Linked DNA regions of Homo sapiens: region 1 is linked to region 2. The links are contacts of gene promoters, found by promoter capture Hi-C in human tissues and cell types (Jung and others, 2019). All regions are on one chromosome and are shown on one strand. Each heading gives the region's core, a stretch centred on a gene start or on the middle of the fragment in contact. The rest is flanking DNA. Distances are from core to core; before and after follow the strand shown. Region 1 has its middle 6.2 kb from the start of GPRC5B. Region 2 holds the start of UMOD (uromodulin).

What was found. Contacts are between HindIII fragments. The study calls those that stand out against the background at their distance.
Region 1: a fragment that was not itself captured here is called in contact with the fragment with the promoter of UMOD in region 2 in 2 of the 25 tissues and cell types used here (H1 embryonic stem cells and thymus).

The regions. Positions count from the first base shown.
Region 1 is chr16:19,889,675-19,892,374 of GRCh38, reverse strand. No RefSeq gene overlaps it. Among named protein-coding and RNA genes, the nearest start is that of GPRC5B, 6.2 kb to the right of the region's middle. The HindIII fragment of the contact is 3,795 bases long and covers 1-2,700 here.
Region 2 is chr16:20,351,347-20,354,046 of GRCh38, reverse strand. UMOD (uromodulin) reads left to right here and starts at 1,332. Exons shown (of 11, transcript NM_003361.4): 1 at 1,332-1,358. The HindIII fragment of the contact is 15,409 bases long and covers 1-2,700 here.

The sequences.
Region 1 (2,700 bases), core at 121-2,620, 460 kb after region 2:
GAATCCTCTCCCACCCTCTGAACCAGAGTGTTCATGTGGACAAGAGCCTGGTGATTTGGAAGTACATCACAGTGTCATAAGGAAAAACTAAGAGAAAGTGAAGCTGATCAGAGGATTCCTGCCCGGGGGTAAAACAGCAGGATGGGGCAGTGGTTACAGCCTGGGCTCTGGGGCTGGCACATCCAGGCCCTGCCTCCACCCTTTCTCTTAAAGTGGATCCCACATCACTCTAAGCTTCATAACCGAGTAAAGATAAATGGTCCAACATTTCTTAAACCTCCACCAGGAAGTTCATAGACGCCTATAAATAAATAACCTAGAATTGCAACCATTCAAATCATTCTTTGTTTTACATAGGGGTAGAGGCTTGAGTTTGTCTTTGGGGGGGACAGACAGTTCCTTTGTTTTGGGGACACAGCAAGGGAACTTCTAGTAGTGAAATGACAAAGCAGAAACCTTTTTTTGTTGTTGTTGTTTTAGACCGAGTCTCACTCTGTTGCCGAGGCTGGAGCGCAGTGGCGTGATCTCGGCTCACTGCAACCTCTGCCTCTCAGGTTCAAGCGATTCTCCTGCCTCAGCCTCCATTGTAGCTGGGATTACAGGCATGTGACACCATGCCCAGCTAATTTTTTTGTATTTGTAGTAGAGACAGGGTTTCACCATGTTGGCCACGCTGGTCTCGAACTCCTGACCTCAGGCTATCTGCCCACCTCGGCCTCCCAAAGGGTAAAGCAGAAACCTTCTATGAAGATAGAGAGCTGCTTCTGTGACAGATTTGCGTCAGGAGAAAAGGAGGGGAGGGGAGAAGGGAAAGGGGCCACACACTTTCTATCTGGCCCTGGGATTGGGTTTGATCCCCCTGAGATAGTGGTGACTCAGAAGCTCAGAAGCTACCCTTACAGGTGGCTGGGTAGGGCAGTGGACATGTGTGCCACCAGCTCAAGCCCCTGCTCCTTCAACTCTCAGGAAGGTCACTTGGGGCAGACACTGAGGTTTCCTGCCTCAAGCACCTTTCCCTCACCCTCCTTCTTTACTGAGTCTCTTGGTGCCAAGAGCTCACTTCTCAGCCTCCTTTGTACTAGGGGAAGCGAGGTGATTCAGTTCTGACCAAGGAAATATAAGGGTAATTCTGCACCTGGGGTGAGAAGTAGGGCAGTTCTAGGAATGATTTTCTTTCTGATTAACAGGGAGACTCACAAGAAGAGCTCTCTTCCCTGGACAGCTTCTTTCCCATACTGGAGATTGTCAAGTGAAGATGTGATGTTTGGTGCCATGGCAGCTATCTTGTGACCATGAGGTCCCAAGCAGAGGACAGCTGATCAGAAGACTACTAGAAAGACACTGGGCCCCTGTTTACATTGTTGAGCAATGGACCAACTGTGAGATCACTCACATCCCGACTTATTGTTGTGTGATAACAAACATCCCTATTGTGTAGGCCGTAACAATTGTCCTGCTGCTTAAATGTTTCCTGACAGCTTTGGGGGCTTTGGGAGAGTGTCCCCATGGCAGCCTTGCAGGGGACCAATGGGGCCATGATGAGGCTACTCCAAGCAATCTTGCGTACTCACAGACAAGAACCTGTAGGAAGAGAGGGTGGCAGTCACATTTTGACTGCAACTGACACACTGGTTTGTGGATGTCTATGGGGACACCCCATTGGGGACTCCCAGAAACAACTGAAGAGCACTTTGCCACTGTGAATGAATTTTCTTTTCTTTTTTCTTTTCTTTTCTTTTCTTTCTTTCTTTCTTTCTTTTTTTTTTTTTTTTTTTTTGACAAGGTCTTGCTCTGTCACTCAGGCTGGAATGCAGTGGTGTGATCACAGCTCACTGCAGCCTCAACCTCCTAGACTCAAACAACCCTCCCACCTCAGCCTCCAGAGTAGCTGGGACTACAGGCACATGCTACCACACCTGGTTACAAATTTTTTGTAGAGATGGGAGTTTTGCTCTGTTGCCCAGGCTGGTCTTGAACTCCATGGCTTAAGTGATCCTCCCACCTCAGCCTCTAAAAGTGCTGGGATTGCAGGTGTGAGCCGCTGTACCCAGCCTGAATTTTCTAACACATAATGGGCAGTTACAGTTACAGACTGAGGGCATTAAAAGCAGCAATCCATTGGTGATGCCTGTCATGGGCACAAAATAGTGGAATGGTGGCAATGGTGTGTTCCACATTTGTTTACTCAGTGCTCCTGGCTGCTCACCCCAAAGATGCTTCCAGAAATGCCAACAGCCTGAAGTGTCCCCCATTGCTGCTCTAAGGAGAACATCAAGTGCTGGAGTCTCAGGGGAGCCTGGGAACCTTCTCAGCCTAGCCAAGCAAAGTATGTAGGTAGGAAGTTGATATGGTTTGAATATTTGTCCACGTTAAATTTCATGTTGAAATGTGATTCCCGGTGTTGGAGGTGTCTGGGTCATGTGGATGTATCCCTCATGAGTGGCTCACAGTAGTGAGTGGGTTCTCTCTCTGTTAGTTCACACAAGAGCTGGCTGATTAGAGGAGCCCGGCATCTCTCTGGCTCTCTCTCTCTCGCCATGTGACACACCAGCTCCCCATTCGCCTTCTGCCATGAGCAAAAGCTTCCCGAGGCCTCCCCAGAGGCCGAGCAGATGCTGGGGTCAAACGTGTACAGCCTGCAGAACTGTGAGCTAATACATCTCTTTTCTTTATAAATTACCCAGTCCCAGCCACATGTGG
Region 2 (2,700 bases), core at 83-2,582:
CATCATTCTCAGCAAACTATCGCAAGGACAAAAAACCAAACACCGCATGTTCTCACTCACAGGTGGGAATTGAACAATGAGAGCACTTGGACACAGGAAGGGGAACATCACACCCAGGGGCCTATTGTGGGATGCGGGGAGCGGGGAGGGATAGCATTAGGAGTTATACCTAATGTAAATGACAAGTTAATGGGTGCAGCACATCAACATGGCACATGTATACATATGTAACAAACCTGCACGTTGTGCACTTGTACCCTAAAACTTAAAGTATAAAAAAAAAAAAGATCAATGCAGTGATCATGGTGATATTTTCCTGCTCAGCCCAAGTTCACACATATTTTATTTTTCTCAACATGATGACAGCCACTCTCACACTGACTTTTGGAATGTCATGTATGTTGAACTGGGTCTGAAGACATGGTTTTAACTCAGGCTCTGTCATTTTCTACCTCAGTGATTGCACAACAGCAAAGCAGAATTTTCACTACTTCCATGAATATAATCATTACTATATGACTTTACTTGCATCATCTCCTTTGGTTACTATTACTACTGTGGGAGATGGGTATTCTCATTTTATAGACAAGGAAATTGACCTCTGGACCTCAGGAAGGTTAAGAAATGAGCCCACTGCCACACAATAAACACCAGATAAAGGAGGCAGACTGACTCCAAAGTCAGTCTATTTAAGTGCAAATTTATTTCGCCTCCAAAGGGACCTCCCAGTCATCAGACCTGATTCTTTGTTGTACAGAGTGGGTCAGGTCCAGTGATGTCTGAACTACCTTCTGGTTCTGACTTTCAGCCATTCTCAGCTCCTCTCTTGCTTGTGTCTGGATTCTAAGGCTGATCTCATGAGAATGGGTGTTTCAGAAGGGTGCCCTCTCCAAGACAGGTGCACCTCCCATCTGGGGCAGTGAATATCCCTTTTGTCCTTATGCAGCCTGGCTTCAGATACTGGCTTCTGCCTGGCTCCTTGATCCCACCCTGCCCTTGTCAGTGACCAAGAAGAAGCCCAGCACCTTGGCACTGCTTTCCCAGTTAATTTCTAACTATGGAATCTCTTGCTGTTAGAAGGTGCGAAACAGTGACCTTGTATTTCCGGGCACAGGTGTGACCCCCCAATGTCAATCATTTGGGGTCTCTAGCTATTAGGAAAAAGAACAACAACAACCTCACAGCTTGGACAAGGCAAACATTATGCCAGGAGGAAAAAATATTCCACCCCCAAGAAAACAATATCAAAAAACAGAACTAGAGACTAATTGGAGGAGAGATTGCCAGCCTGGGGCAAATGTGTATATATAAGTATGAGGCACATCATGACCAGACTAACTCTACCTTTCTGGCTTCAGGTAAGGCTATCTGTAGCTGTCTTCTCCTAGCCCAGCTTCTCCCCATCCTATTTGAGGGAGGTAGGAGAGGAAATTAAGACCTTGGACACTGGGGTCAGACCTGGATTTGAGTCATTATTCTGCCAATTATTGGCTTCATGATCTTTAGTAAGTTAGTTTTCCTCTCTTTGATCCTCTCTGTCCTAGTAACAATGACTACTATTTTTTGACTTATTCCATGAATATTAGTTATGCACCTATTATGTGCCAGGTACCAGGGTTACAACAATGAACAACTTGCTATGTGCTGGGCCCTGCTCGACATATGTCATCTTAGTTAATCCCAGTGACAATATGCAGTGTTTTAGGTCGCATCTTATTAGCGGGTCATAAAATCATTCCTTTTGTGGGTTATATCCAGGGACTTCTTTTAATTAAATATAATAGAATATGTCAGTAAGCAATACAAATTTGAGGCAAGCAGTTAGCCTCTTTGTCCCCCTGTTTTCTCATCTGCAAACTAGGATAATACTTATCTCATAGGGTTGTGGTAAGAATTAAATCACTTAATGTAGTAAGGATATCAATTGTCTTATAAAATTTTATGTGTGTGTGCACATACATGCAGAAGCGACTGCACTAGATCATGACATAAAATGTTTTTCTTTCTTTCTGTCTTTTTTTTTTTGGGGGGGGGGGATGGACTCTCTGTCACCCAGGCAGGAGTGCAGTGGCACGATCTCAGCTCACTGCAACCTCTGCCTCCCAGGTTCAAGCAATCCTCCTGTCTCAGCCTCCCGAGTAGCTGGGATTACAGGCGCCCACCACCATGCCCGGCTAATTTTTGTATTTTTATTAGAGATGGGGTTTCACCATGCTGGCCAGGCTGGTCTCAAACTCCTGACCTTGTGATCCACCCCCTCAGTCTCCCAAAGTGTTGGGATTACAGGCATGAGCCACTGCACCTGGCAACATAAAATGTTTTTCTTTTAGTACATCATGGTCACGAAGATCTGGAAAACGTTGCTCTAGGACCCAATGCCTTTGAGCACATGAATGTCTTTGAACTGAGCCTGGCCCATCATAGATATTCAGTTTGTGAAAGCAACAATCTCCATTTCACAGACAAAAACGGAGACTTAGTAAACTGAAATACCCACATCACAGTGTTAGTGATCAGTAAAGCAGGGATTTGAACCTCAGGTGCAGGCTGCAGCTCCTACATACTTAACCAACATGCCACCCTATTTTGCTGCTATAAACACTGGGGTAATACTGGCATCCACCCTGGACTATTTTTCCAATTGGAAGAAATAGTAAGTGACCACTCCAGAAACATTTAAATGCATTGTGAAGGTTAATT